3 separate regions of the Homo sapiens genome follow, and regions 2 and 3 are each linked to region 1. Evidence: promoter capture Hi-C in 16 types of primary human blood cells and fetal thymus (Javierre and others, 2016). All regions are on one chromosome and are shown on one strand. Each heading gives the region's core, a stretch centred on a gene start or on the middle of the fragment in contact. The rest is flanking DNA. Distances are from core to core; before and after follow the strand shown.

The links. Contacts are between HindIII fragments. The CHiCAGO score rates a contact against its expected background, and 5 or more counts as called.
Region 2: a fragment that was not itself captured here is called in contact with the fragment with the promoter of TSR2 in region 1 in 3 of 17 cell types (fetal thymus, M2 macrophages and M0 macrophages); the score reaches 6.6 in fetal thymus.
Region 3: a contact is called between a fragment that was not itself captured here and the fragment with the promoter of TSR2 in region 1, in 1 of 17 cell types (fetal thymus). The highest score is 5.9, in fetal thymus.

Annotation. Positions count from the first base shown.
Region 1 is chrX:54,437,434-54,442,596 of GRCh38, forward strand. It overlaps TSR2 (TSR2 ribosome maturation factor), which reads left to right and starts at 2,971. Exons shown (of 5, transcript NM_058163.3): 1 at 2,971-3,069; 2 at 3,257-3,347. The coding sequence starts at 2,989. RefSeq lists an enhancer at 2,689-2,738. The HindIII fragment of the contact is 25,574 bases long and covers 1-4,459 here.
Region 2 is chrX:55,059,350-55,064,512 of GRCh38, forward strand. It overlaps a transcript of PAGE2B not described here. Among named protein-coding and RNA genes, the nearest start is that of PAGE2B, 13 kb to the right of the region's middle. The HindIII fragment of the contact is 1,880 bases long and covers 1,360-3,239 here.
Region 3 is chrX:54,983,219-54,988,381 of GRCh38, forward strand. The region is part of intron 1 of PFKFB1 (6-phosphofructo-2-kinase/fructose-2,6-biphosphatase 1); the gene reads right to left. Among named protein-coding and RNA genes, the nearest start is that of PFKFB1, 8.4 kb to the right of the region's middle. The HindIII fragment of the contact is 2,160 bases long and covers 1,414-3,573 here.

The DNA.
Region 1 (5,163 bases), core at 1,721-4,220:
CACACACACACACACACACACAACCACACACACACACACACACACACACTAGCCAGGCATGGTGGCCTATTCCTGTAGTCCCAGCTAATCAGGAGGCAGAGGCAGGAGGATCCTTTGAGCCCAGGAGTTTGAGGCTGCAGTGAGCAATGTTTGTGCCACTGCATTCCAGCCTGGGCAACAAAAAAAGACTTCATCTCTGAAAAAAAAATAACCGCCCAGGTCCGGTGGCTCACGCCTGTAATCCAAACACTTGGGAAGGCTGAGGTGGGCAGCTCACTTGAGGTCAGGAGTTCAAGACCAGCCTGGCCAACATGGTGAAACCCTGTCTCTACTAAAAATACAAAAATTAACGGGGCATGGTGGCATATGCCTGTAATCCCAGCTACTCTGGAGGCTGAGGCAGGAGACTCCTTTGAACCTGGGAGGCAGAGGTTGTAGTGAGCTGAGATTGCACCACTGCACTTCAGCCTGGGTGACAGCACCAGACTCCATCTCAAAACAAACAAACAAACAAACAAAAAACAACAACTGACTTTTGGCTTCACTGTTTTTTCTTTTCTCTATTGTTTTTCAATTCTCTATTTCATTTATTTCTGTTCTATTATTTATTATTTCCTTTCTTATGCTTGCCTTGGGATTACTTTGCTCTTCTTTTTCTGGTTTTGTGAAGTGGAAGTGTAGGTTATTAATTTGATATCATTCTTTCATTTTTTATTTTTTTGAGACAGGGTCTTGCTCTGTCCCCCATGCTGGAGTGCAGTGGCACAATCACGGCTCACTGCAGCCTTGAGCTCCCAGGCTCAAGCAATCCTCCCACCTCAGCCTCCTGAGTGGCTGGTACTACACGCATATGCCACTATGCCCATCTAATTTTGTTTGTTCGTTTGTTTGTTTGAGACAGAGTCTCACTGTGTCGCCCAGGCTGGAGTGCAGTGGAGTGATCTCAGCTCACTGCAACCTCTGCCTACCGGGTTCAAGCGATTCTCGTGCTTCAGCCTCCCAAGTAGCTGGGATTACAGGTGTGTGTCACCATGCCTGGCTAACTTTTGCATTTTTAGTAGAGACAGGGTTTGTTCATATTGACCATGCTGGTCTCAAACTCCTGACCTCAGGTGATCTGCCCACCCAAAGTGCGGGAATTATAGGTGTGAGCCACCATGCCTGGCCTAGTTTTCAAATTTATTTATTTATTTAGTTTGAGACAGAGTCTCACTCTGTTTCCCAGGCTGGAGTGCAATGGCACCATCTCGGCTCACTGTAACCTCCGCCTCCCGGGTTCAAGCCATTCTCCTGCCTCAGCCTCCCAAGTAGCTGGGATTACAGGTGCTTGCCACCAGACCTGGCTAATTTTTGTATTTTTAGTAGAGACGGGGTTTCACCATCTTGGCCAGGCTGGTCTCGAACTCCTGACCTCAAGTGATCTGCCTGCCTTGGCCTCCCAAAGTGCTGTGATTACAAGCGTGAGCCACCACACCTGGCCTAATTTTTAAAATTGTTTTTAGAGATGGGGTCTCACTATGTTGCCCAGGCTGGTCTTGAACTCCTGAGCTCAAGCCATCCTCCCGCATCAACCTCCCAAAGTGCTATGATTACAGGCATGAGCCACCATGTCCGGCTCTTCTTTTTAGATATGCATGTTTACAGCTAAAGATTTCCCTCTAAGTTTTGCTTTAGCTGCATCTCATGCATTTTTTTATGTTTTTGTTTTCATTCATTTAAAAGTGTTTTCTAATTTGCTTTGTGATTTTTTTCTTTGACCCATTTATTGCTTAGGAGTGTGTTAATTTCCATATATTTGTGAATTTTGTAAGTTTCTTTTTACTGATTTTTAACTTCTTTCCATTGTGGTCAGACAACATACTTTGTATGTTCAATCCTGTTAAATCTATGGAGGCCTACTGTATGGCCTAGTGTATGATCTGTTCTGGAGAATGTTCTTGTGTACTTCAGAAAAACATGTACAGTTATCCCTGGGTATCCGTGGGAGACTGGTTCCACGACCTCCGGAGGATACCAAAATTCATAGATGCTCAAGTCCCTGATATAAAATGGCATAGTATTTGCGTATAACCTATGAATATTCTACTGTATACTTTAAATCATTTCCAGATGTGACTCACGCCTATAATCCCAGCAATTTGGGAGGCTGAGGCAAGTGGATTAAACCCAGGAGTTCGAGACCAGCCTGGGCAACATGGCGAAACCCTGTCTCTACTAAAAACACAAAAATTAGCTGGGAGTGGTGGTGGGCACCTGTAATCTCAGGTACTCGGGAGGCTGAGGCACGAGAATTGCTTGAAACCAGGAGACGGAGGTTGCAGTCAGCCGAGATGGCGCCACTGCACTCCAGCCTGGGCCACAGAGTGACACTCGGTCTCAAAAAAATAGATAAATAAATAATTTCCAGGTTACTTATAATGCCTAATAAAGTGTAAATGCTATGTATATAGCTGTTATACTGTACTGTTTAGGAGAATAATGTCAAGAAAAAAAGTATACACATGTTCAATGCAGATGCAATTTTTTCCTGAATATTTTCCATCTGAGGTTAGTTGAATTCACGGACGTGGACTGCCCCCCATAGGGAGAGCTGATTGTATTTTACTGTTGTTGGTTGCAGTATTCTATACAGATGTTAGGATGCTTTTTTTAAATGCAGATTTTTAAGGCTATACTCACTGAGTCCTCTGCCCCAGGGCCTGGAATCTGTATCTGTAATAAGTTCCCCACATATTTCCTCCGCAGTACCCACGGATCCGGAAACCATGGCCCCACACGTCCTTCAGGTCTGGTGTCCTTTGATTTAAGTGAGTAACTCTGGTGGTGTCATCGATCGCTCTGACAGATTTTTCTTTTGCTCTAGTCTTGCTGCCAGGTCTGCGGAAAAGAGAATCCTGTGTTCTCAGGCTCGGCTTGCGTCTCGTTCTGCCTGGGCCGAGCTACAGAGGGATTGGGCCGCCGGGACGTCACGTGGACTGGGGCCGGATAATGGCGGGCGCTGCAGAAGATGCGCGAGCTCTTTTCCGGGCTGGGGTCTGCGCGGCCCTGGAGGCCTGGCCGGCCTTGCAGGTCAGTGGGGCCAGGGCCAGGGCAAGGTCAAGGTTAGGGCCCGGGGCAGAACAGGAGTTGGTTGGGCTAGGTGCCTGAGGCTTGGCTAGGCGGCATAAGAGGAGTTGGCTGGGCGGCGTAAGCGGCCTCCAGGCTACTCCAGGTCTGCTCCCAAGCTGACTTGGTGGGCTTGGACCTGTGTTTACAGATCGCTGTGGAGAATGGCTTCGGGGGTGTGCACAGCCAGGAGAAGGCCAAGTGGCTGGGGGGTGCAGTGGAGGATTACTTCATGCGCAATGGTGAGTGAATGTGAGGCGCCGCGACCCGCCTGTGTGGGGGTGTGGAGAGGAGGAGCCCCATCCCGCAGAGCCTGCATTTCCTCTCGAGCAGTTGTGGATTGGTACCTAAAGGTGAGGTGGAATGAATTCAGCTTTTAGAATCAGAATCCTGGATTCCAGTGCTTTACGGGCTGTACCACTGACTCGTGGGATTACTCTGGACAAGGCAGTTTACCTCCCTGAGACTCAGTTTCCTAGTTTCTAAAATGCGTATAAAAGTATCCACCAGAGCGCTGTACAGTAGAAATATTATGCTAGTCACATATAATTTAAAATTTTTTAGTAGCCACTTTAATAAAGCAAAAAGCAGATGAAATCAATGTTAGTAAACTCGGTGTGTATGAAATATTTCAACATGTAGTCAGTATAAAACATTGAGATATTTTACATTTTTTAGTATTAAGTTTTCAAAATCTGGTATTTTACAGTTTTAGCACATTTCGATTTGGCCTAGCCATATTTCAAGTGCTCAGTAACCACCTGTGGCTGTTTGGACAGCAAAGATCTACACTGTAGGCTCGTCTTGAGGGATATACAAGAACAAGAGGCCCAGTAGAGGGCCTGTTGCATAGTATGGTTTTTAAAAAAATCTTCATTCAATTTCTAGCTTTGGAGATGACATTAGGCAGAGTCATCTCTCTCAAGAAAGTATACTATCCATTGAGGATCCACACACGTAAATAGTTACAACATTGATAGATTTTCTGATAAAGAGGAGCTCAGGGTGCATGGGGTAACAGGATGGGGAGACAGCTTCTTAGTGGAGGTGGTGAATTGGGCTGGGTCTTAGTGAGAAGGAGTTAACTAGGTGGGGGAAGCAGAGAGAGCAACACTCAAGTTCTGTGGCATGAGGGTATAATGTGTTATATTTGGAAAGTAGCAGGGAGCTCAGTATTGGAGTATGGGCGTGTGTGCGTGGGGGGTGGAGGAGTGGTAGAGAATGAAGCTGGGGTGTGGGAAGCCCCCTTGAAAAGCATAAGACATGGAAGCCCTTATGTGCCTTTGATTTTATCATTTAGGCCAGTGTTTGCCAAAATTCATGCTAACTAGTTCTGTTAGATGTTCAGTGAAGAAGCTTCTCCAGTTACCTTATGTAAGAAAAACTCTTGTTCTGCTCCCACTGAAAAGTCTTAACACTCATGAACATATTAAAGGCTTGGGTAAGAATAAGAACCACTAAAAAACCTGTTTGCTTTTGTTTCTCATTAGCTTTCTATGGATAGTGTCCCTTAAGACCCAGCAGAACAGATATTTCTCAAAGGCAAACTGTGAAACACTGCAGTGGCTGGTAAAAATTCGTGGGCAGGTTCTAGGGTGAGAAATAGGATGGGATTTGCTGGCTAGAAAGTTCAGGAAATAATCAGTATGAAGCATAACCTGGAGAGGGAAAGACTGATGAGAACGCTGTTTTTGTCTAGAAACTGATGAGGCCTGAAGTAGGACAGTGGCAACAGGCATGGAAAAGAAGGGGTGGAATAGGGCCTTGGAGATTGGTTGGCTGTAGACAGGGAGGGAAAAAGAGGCAAGTTCCTGGTTTGAGTTGATGGGTGGATTAGGTGTCTTTTCTCGGAGTAGAGGAACCCTGGAGGATGCGAAGCAGGTTTAAAGAGTAAGGTGATGAGTCTGGCTTTAGATATGGAAGATCTGCGGCATCTGTGAAACGTCCAGGCACAGAGTAGTCTCAGTTGGAGATAAATTCGGGGGATATTAAGTTTGAGTGGTAGGGAAAGCCAAGAGTGTGGATGAGCTCTCCCAGAGAAAGCACATAGAGGGGAGA
Region 2 (5,163 bases), core at 1,050-3,549, 620 kb after region 1:
TTGGATTAGGGCCACCTAAAGGTTTCGTTTTTACTTAATCACATCTTTATAGGCTTGATATCCAATTACAGTCATATTCTGGAGTAATAGAAGTTAGAGCTTCTCAAGTAGCACTTCAATTAATTAATTAGCTAATTAATTTTTAATTGAAAAATACAAATTATATATATATGAGGTGTAACTTGATGTTTTGACATATGTGTACAATGTGGAATGATTAAATCAAGCTAACTAATGTATCCATTGCCTCATATAATATCTATTGCAGTAAGAACATTTAAAATCTACTTCTTTAGCAATTTCAAGTATATGATACATTATAATTTGCTATAATCAGTCACCATACTGTACAATAGAGCTCTATAACTTATTTCTCCTTCCTAACTGAAACTTTGAACCCTTTGACCAACATTTCCCCATTTCCTACAACCTCCTGCCAACCCCTGGTAACCACCATTCTACTCTCAGTTTCTATCAATTAGATTTTTTTAGAGTCCACATATAAATGAGATCATGCAGCATTTGCCTTTCTGTGTCTGGTTTACTTCGCTTAGCATAATGTCCTCCAGGTTTATGTGGATTGTTGCAAATGAAAGGATTTTCTTCCTTCTTAAAGCTGAATAGTATTCCATTGTGTGTGCCCGTCTCTGTGTGTGTATACTCCACATTTTCCCTATCTATTGATTCATTGATGGACACTTAGGCTGATTCCATATCTTGGCTATTGTGAATAATACTGCAATGAACATGGAAGTGCAGGTATGTCTTTGACATAGTGACTTTACTTCCTTTGGGTATATAGCTAAAAGTGAAATGGCTGAATCATACAATAACTCTATTTTTAATTTTTTGAGGAATCTCCTTACCGTTTTTCATAATAGCTGAACTGGTTTACATTCCCACTAATAGTGCTCAATATCCCCCCAACACTTGTTATCTTTTGTTTTTTAATGATGGTAGATATTCTAATGGGTGTGAGGTGATATATCATTGTGGCTTTAATTTGTGTTTCTCTGATGATTAGTGATATTGAGCACATTTTTATGTAACTGTCAGCAATTTGGATGTCTCCTTTGGAAAAATATCTATTCAGGTCCTTTGCCCATTTTTAAATCAGGTTATTTATTTTCTTGCTATTGAGTTGTCTGATTTCCTTATATATTTTGGATATTAACCCGTTATCAGATATGTAGTTTGCAAATATTTTCTCTCATTGTGCAGGTTGCATCTTCACTCGATTGTTTCTTTTTCCATGCAAAAGCTTTTTACTTTGATGCAATCCATTTGTCTATTTTTGCTTTTGTTGCCTATGCTTTTGGGGTAATATCCCAAAAATCTTTGCCAGGACAGATGCTAATAAGCTTTCCTCTATGTTTTCTTTCAGTACTTTTACAGTTTTAGGTCTTATATTTAAGTCATTAATCCATTTTGAGTTGATCTCTGGTTTTTTTTGTGTGTATTTTTTTTGTTTTAGTAAATTATATTTTCAGTAAGTTTTCAATAACCAAATTGAAAAGTGTGTCTATTTATTCCTGACTAGGCTAAGACATGTAGAAATATATCACTACTGTTCAACTGTTGGGAGTAGGGAGGCAATGAACACAAGGAAACTCAGACAGAAAAAGAAATGTAAATTAACATCTCAAAATATTATATTATTACTTTAAAATTATTTAGTAAATCACATGGTCTTCTTATTTGAAAGAGAGGAACTGTGGGATGGTAAGGGTGTACAGAGGGTAGCTGCTAGTGAAAGTCCAGTGGGCTCCAAATATTCTATAAAATCACAATATAATGTATAAGAGAAAGAAGAATAAAGGAATGAGCTACTTTATTTTCATATGATTTCTTTTAAAATAGTGATTTGTAACACCTGTTTCTCTTTTCTTATTCTTTGCAACTTCTATTTCAGGTTCAAGGGGTACATTTGTAGGTTTGTTACATGGGTAAGTTATGCGTCGTAGGGGTTGGCGTACAGATAATTTTGTCACCCAGGTAATCAGCATAGTACCTGATAGGTAGTTTTTCAATCCTCACCCTCCTCCTGCTCTCTACTCTCAAACAGACCCTAGTGTCCATTGTTCTTTTTAAATATTTTTTATTTTTAATTTTGTGAGTATATAGTAGGTATATGTATTTGTGGGTTACATGAGATATTTCGTTACAGGCATGCAAAGTGTAATAATCACATCAGGGTAAATGGGGTATCCATCACTTCAAGCATTTATCCTTTGTGTTACAAACAATCTAATTATACTCTTTTAGTTATTTTAAAATGTATGATTAAATTATTATTGACTGTAGTCACCCTGTTGTGCTAGCAAATATTAGGTCTTATTCATTCTTTCTAACTATATTTTTGCGCCCATTAACCATCCCCAGTTCCCTGCCACTTCACCACTACACTTCTTAGCCTCTGGTTACCACCCTTCTACTCTATCTCCATGAGTTCAATTATTTTAATTTTTAGCTGTCACAAATAAGTGAGACCATGTGAAGTTTGTCTTTCTGTAACTGGCTTATTTCACTTAACATAATGACCTCCAGTTCCATCCATGTTGCTGCAAATGACTGGATCTCATTCGTTTTATGGCTGAATAGTACTCCATTGTGTATAAGTACCACGTTTTCCTTATCCATTCATATGTTGATGGACACTTAGGTTGCTTCCAAATCTTGGATATTGAGAATAGTGCTGCTGTAAACATGGGAATGCACATATCTCTTCGTTATCCTGATTTTCTTTCTTTTGGGTATATACCTGGGAATAGGATTGTTGGATCGTATGGTAGCTCTATTTTTAGTTTTCTTGAGGAACCTCCAAACTGTTCTCCATAATGGTTGTACTAATTTACATAGCCACCAACAGTGCAGGGGAGTTCCCTTTTCTCCACATCCTCACTAGCATTTATCATTGCCTGACTTTCAGGTAAAAGCCATTTTAACTGGGTTGAGAAGATATCTCATTGTAGCTTTAATATGCATTTCTCTGATGATCAATTATATTGAGCATCTTTTCATATACCTGTTTGCTATTTGTATGTCTTCTTTTGAGAAATGTCCATTCAGGTCTTTTGCCCATTTTTAAATGAGACGATTAGATTTATTTCCTATAGAGTTCTTTGAGCTCCTTATGTATTCTGATTATTAATTCCTTGTCAGATGGGTAAGTTGCAAATGTTTGTCCCATTATGTGGGTTGCCGCTTCACTTTGTTGATTGTTTCCTTTGCTGTGCAGAAGCTTTTAAACTTGATGTAATTCAATTTGTCCATTTTTGCTTTGGTTGCCTGTGCTTGTGGGATATTGCTCACGAAATCTTTGTGCAGTCCAGTGTCCTAGAGAGGTTCCCCAATGTTTTCCTTTGGTGGTTTCATAGTCTGAGGTCTTATAATTTAAGTCTTTAATACATTTTGATTTGATTTTTGTATATGGTGAGAGATAGGGGTGTAGTTTCATTCTTTTGCATGTGGATATCCAGTTTTCACAGCACTATGTATTAAAGAGACTGTCCTTTCACTAGTGTATGTTCTTGAGAACTTAGTCAAAAGTGAGTTTGCTGTAGATGTGTGAATTTATCTCTGGGTTTTCTATACTGTTCCATTGGTCTGTGTGTCTGTTTTTATGCCAGTACTGTGTTGTTTTGGTTACTATAGCTCTGTAGTGTAATTTAAAGTCAGGTAATATGATTCTTCCATGTTTGTTCTTTTTGCTCAGTATAGCTTTGGCTATTCTGTGTCTTTTGTGGTTCCATATAAATTTTAGAGTTTTTTTCTATTTATATGAAGAATATCATTGGTATTTTGATAGGGATTGCATCAAATCTGTAGATTGTTTTGGGTAGTATGGACATTTAAAAATATTGATTTTCCCAATCCATTAACATTTAATTTCTTGCATCAATGTTTTATAGTTTTTATTGTAGAGATCTTTTACTTCTTTGGTTAAGCAAATTCCTAGTATTGTATTTTGTGTATATTGTAAATGGGATTACTTTTTAAAATTTCTTTTTCTGATTGTTCGCTGTTAGCATATAGAAATGCTACTGATTTTTGTATGTTGATTTTGTATCCTGAAATTTTCCTGAATTTGTTTATCAGTTTATTAGTTTTCTCGTGGAGCCTTTAGGTTTTTCCAAACATAAAATCACATCTCTGCAAACAAGGATGATTCGACTCCTTCCTTCCCCTTTTAGAGGTCCTTTATTTCTCTCTTGTCTGATTGCTCTAGGTAGGACTTCCAGTACTATGTTGAATAACAGTGGTGAAAATGAGAATCCTTGTTCCAGTTCTTAGAGGAAAGGATTTCAGTTTTTCCCCATTCAATATGATACTAGCTATGGACCTGTTGTATATAGTTTTATTATCTTGTGATATGTTCCTTCTATATCCAGTTTTTTGAGGGTTTTTATCATGAAGGGATGTTGAATTTTACCAAATGCTTTTTCAGCATCAATTGAAATGATCATATGGTTTTCGGCCTTCATTCTGTTGATATGATTTATCACATTAATTGATTTGTATATGTTGAACCATCCTTGCATCCCTGGGTTAAATCCCACTTGGTCATGATGAATGACTTTTTTTTAATGTGTTGTTGAATTTGGTTTGCTAATATTTTGTTGAGGATTTTTATATCAATATTCATCAGTGATATTGGCCTATAGTTTCCTTTTTGTGATGTGTCTTTGTCTGGTTTTGGTATCAGGGTAATATTGTCCTTGTAGAATGAGTTTAGAAGTATTCTCTCCTCCTCTATTTTTTGGAATAGTTTGAGTAGGTTTAGTGTTAGTTCTTCTTTAACAGCTTGGTAGAATTCAGCAGTGTAGCCATTGGATCCTGAGTTTCCTTTGCTGGGAGACTTTTCATTATGGATCTCCTTCCTTGTTATTGGTTTGTTCAGGTTTTGGATTTCTTCATGGTTCAATCTTGGCAGAATGAATGTGTCTAGGAATTTTTCCATTTCTTCTAGATTTTCCAAAATATTGGCATATAGTTGCTCATAGTATTCACTAATGATCCATTGAATTTCTGTAGTATCAGTTGTAATGTCTCCCTTTTCGTCTCTGATTTTACTTATTTGGGTCTTGTCTCTTTTTTTGTTAGTCTGGCTAAAGGTTTGTCCATTTTGTTTATCTCTTCAAAAACCAACTTTCTGTTTCATTG
Region 3 (5,163 bases), core at 1,244-3,743, 550 kb after region 1:
TAATGTCACAAGAGTTTGTTGTACAGATTATTTTGTCACCCAGGTGTACCTATTACCTATTAACTAGCACCCATTAGTTATTCTTCCTGATCTTTTCCCTTCTCCCACCCTCCACCCTCAGGTAGGTCTCAAATGTGTGTTGTTCCCCTCTATGTCCATGTGTTCTCATCATTTAGCTCCCACTTACAAGGGAGAACATGCAGTATTTGGTTTTCTGTTCCTTTTAGGTTGCTAAGTATAATGGCCTCCAGCATCCATGTCCCTGCAAAGGACATGATGTCATTCTTTTTTATGGCTGCATAGTATTCCACGGCATACACATACTACATTTTCTTTATCCAGTCTATCACTGATGGACATTTAGGTTGATTCCATGTCTTTGGTATTGTGAATAGTGCTGCAATGAACATATGTCTGCATGTGTCTTTATAATAGAACGATTTATATCCCCTTGGGTATATACCCAGTAATGGGATTGCTGGGTTGAATGGTAGTTCTGTTTTTAGCTCTTTGATGAATCACTACACTGCTTTCCACATGGTTGAGCTAATTTACATTCCCACCAGCAGTGTATAAACATTCACTTTCTTCTGCAATCTCACCAGTATCTGTTATTTTTTGACTTTTTTATGATAGCCATTCTGACTGGTGTGAGATGGTATCTCACTGTGGCTTTGATTTGCATTTCCCTAATGATCAGTGATGTTGAGCATTTTTTCATATGCTTGTTGGCTGTATGTGTGTCTTCTTTTGAAAAGTGTCTGTTCATGTCCTTTGCCCACTTTTTAATAGGGTTGTTTTTTTCTTGTAAATTTGTTTAAGTTCAACTTGATAAGAAACTTCTATAAAGCAAACAAAAACTATCACCAACATTATACTTAAAAGTGAAAGACTAAATGCTTTCCCCCTAACATCAGGACTAATGTAAGGATTTCCACCTTCTCCACTCTTTTGACATAGTACTAGAAGTTCTAACCACTGCAATAAGGCAATAAAAGGAAATAAAAGGCATACGGTTTGGAAAATAATTTTTAAAAAATCCCTATTTGCAAATGTCATGATTGTCTACATAGAAATATCCCCCTAAACTACAGAAATTCCTCGAACTAACAAGTGAGTTCATCAAGGCTGCAAGATACAAGATCAACACACAAAGACAATCTTGAGACTTTCATTTCTGGCATGACAGCATGAGGAGCTCTAAAGACCCATTCTCTAATAAAACAAGCTCAGCTGGCAAAATTACAACACAACAACCTTTTAAAATCTCTGGAAATTGTCTTAATGGAATACAGTACATGAAGATATTTTTATTCAAGAAAATCTACTGAAATGTGGTAAGAACACAGTCTTTGATACATGTGCCATGCTACTGTTCCCGACCTTACTACTGTCCCCTCACTACTGGCTCCAAGCTTAGCTTGATAGAAGCTCCACTTAAGGTGTGTATAGCCAAGATGAAGCTCCCTTTCGTCTTGGAGAGAATGTCCCATCAATACTTTGGCATCTTACTGGAAGGAGCAGAGAGCTAGCATTTAGCATTCCCTTCAGCTCAGAATTGCAGAGGCTAAATTCCTGGCAAGTGTGGTTAAGAGGTTGGAGGATCCCTTCCTCCTCCCAGTTTTTACTCATAGAATGGAGGCTATATACCAGGTGCAATAGGCTAAGAATACTGAGGTCCTGATTACCCTCATTCCATCTTGCTCACAGGGTAGGTTCCACACCAGGATAGGCAAACTAAGACCAGAAGCTGCTGTCTCGCCCAGCACCCAGAACAGTGCTCAGACAGTATACCCATGGAGAGAAGAAATTCATAAGATGAGAGAGCTCTGAAACTCTCCCCCCAAAACTAACTTTATTTTTAACATAGTACAAAGAAGCTCAAGCCCAAGGATGTTCTCAAAAACTACAAGTTCACTTAACTAACAGCAACATAGGCCAGCTTGTTCATCAGAGAGAACAAGAGAGAGAGGGACAGGTAAGAAGAGCCCTTCTGGGGTATGAAGAAACCTCCAAGACTTACTTCACAAACTACTCCTGCTAGAGTTTAATTAGATAAGGCTGCTGGGCAATGCATGCTTCAGGACACTGCCAAACAAACAAACAAACAAAAAACAAAAACAAAATACAGCATTCAGCTAGTAATTAGTGGAGCCTAGAGTGTAATACCCCCATGTGGGCTGACAGCTTAATAGAGAGACTGGGAAAAAGTCAAAGAAAGCCCAAATTACCTGCAAGCCAAAAACTATGCACTCCAAGAAGCAACACTGAAGGGTTCACACTGCAGGGAAACATACTTTAAAAATAGCCTAGCCAAGTCACAAAGCAAAGAGTTATATAGAAATAAGGAAATGATACCAGAAGGTAATTCAAACCCACAGGAACAAATGAAAATAATAGAAAATAATAAATACATACATGTTCTCCTTAATTTTCTCAGCTTCCTTAAAACATAAAATTATATAAAATAATACTTATAATGATGTATTATTTAGTTTTTAGCATATACAGATATAATATATATATTATAATAGCTCAAAAAGGAAGGTGAAAGAGAGCTATATATGAGTAAAATTTTTATATCTCATTGAAATTAAATTAGTACAAATCTGAAGCACACTGATGTATGATGTATGTGAAAAGCCCTAGAACAACCACGAAGAATATACCTAAAAAATATATAATAAAAAATGATCAAATGAATTAAAAAGTTAAACTAGAATAATTCATTTAATGCAAAAGAAAGCAGTAAAGGAAGAATAGAGAGAAAAAGACATGAGCTCTATGGAAAAATAAAACTGCATATTTAAACCAACTATATCAATAATGATTTTAAATCAGAACAGATTAATCAACCCAATCAAAAGGTAGAGAATATCTAACTGAATACAAACAAACAAGATCCAACTGCATGCTGCCTACAGAAGATAGGTTTTAGACTGAAAGATACAAGGCAGGCCTGGTGGCTCACGCCTATAATCCGAGCACTTTGGGAAACCAAGGTGGGAGGATCCCTTGAGTCCAGAAGTTTGAGACCAGCCTGGGCAACATAGTGAGACTCCATCTCTATTCTAAAAAAGAAAGAAGAAAAAAGAGAAAGAAGCAAATAGATTAAAAGTAAAATAACGTAAGTAATACATCATGCAAACAACAACCACAAGAAATTTGGAGTGACCATACTAATATGAGACAAAATGGATGTTCAAAAACATTACTAGAGATATATAGGGACATTCAATAATGACAAAAGGGTCAATCCATAATGAATATATCACAAGTATAAACGTATATGCCTAAACAACAGAGCTGCCAAATACATGAAGCAAAACTGGCAGAATTGAAGGGAGAAATAGACAATCCACTGACAATAGTTGGAAACTTCAAGACCACTCTTTCAATAATGGATAGAACAACTACATAGAAGATCAACAACAGGGAAATAGAGGACTTCAACACAAAGTAGTAATAACAAACATCTGTAAAACACTCCATCTCCAAACAGCAGACTATACATTTTTCCAAAGTGTACATCAAACATGCTCCAAGAGAGACAATATTCTAGGCCATAAAAGAAGCTTCAATAAATTTGGAAGAATGGAAATCATATAAAGTATGTTCTCCAATCATAATGGAGTAAAATAAAAAATTAATAACAGAGAGAACTTTGGGAAATTCACAAATATGGGAACCTAAAGGAAACAGAAGAAGGATATAATAAGGATTAGAGGTGAAAATAATAAAACAGAGACTAGGAAAACATTAGAAAAAAATCAACAAAATCAAAAGTTGGTTATTTGAAAAAATTAATAAACTTGACAAACCTTTAGTGAGACTGACCAAGAAAAAAAAGAGAAAACTCAAATTAATAAATTCAGGAAAAAAAGAGGAGACATTACTACTGACTTTATGAAAATAAAAAGAATTATAAGGGAATATTATGAACAATCATAAACTGTATGCCAACACAATAAATGCCTTAGGTGAAATAGATAAATTATTAGAATGATACAAACTCTCAAAACTGACTAAAAAAGAAATGAAATCTAAATAGATCTATAACAAGGGGTTGAATAAGTAATGAAAAACCTTGCCAGAAAGAAAAGTCCAGGATTAGATGGTTTCACTGGTGAATTCTACAAACATTTAAAGAATAATACGATTCTTCAAAAGCTCTTTCAAAAAGTAGAAGAGGAAGAAGCACTTCCCAACTCATTCTATGAGGCCAGTATTTCCGTGCTACCAAAGTTAGGCACATATATTAGAAGAAAAGAAAATTATAGACCAATAGCTGTTGTGAATATGGATGTAAAAATCCCCACAAAACACTAGCAAACTGAACCCAGGAATGTATAAAAGGATTTATATGTATACATTATATATATGTATATATTATACTTATACTTTTTACATCACAATCAAGTTAGATTTATTATAGGAATGCAAGCTTGATTTAACCTTTGAAAATCAATTAATGCAACAGATCACATCAATAGAATTAAGGACAAAAAAACCAAATGATCATCATAATAGGCACAGATAAAGCATTTGGGAAATTAAATACCCCTTCATGATAAAACCAACAACAAATTAAAACTAGAAGGAAAGGCCCTAAACCTAATAAAAGACACCAATGAAAAACCCACAGTGAATATCACACTTAATGGTGAAAGATTGAATAGTTTCTCCCATGCCGCCTGCCAAGATCAGTAACAACAGAAGGATGTCTGTTTTCATCTCATCTTTTCAACATTCTAGTAGAGGTTATAGCCAAGGTAATTAGGTAAGAAAAAGAAAATAAAAGGCATCTGGATTGGAAAGGAAGAGATGAAATTATTTCTATTTGCAGATAACATAATCTTGTATATAGAAAATCCCAAGGAATGCACTAAAAAACACCATTGGACCTAATAAATGAGTCCAGCAATGTTGCAGAATATAAGATCAATATATAAAAATCAATTACATTTCTATAAAGTAGCCATGAGCAAACAAAATGAAATTAAGTAAAACAATTTTATTTACAATAGCATCAAAACAATAAAATGCTTAAAAGAACACTTTAAAAAATGTAAAACACTCTGAAAACTGCAAAACATTGGTGAATATAATTAAAGACCTAAGTAAATGCAACAACATCTCATGTTCAGGGACCTAAAACTTATT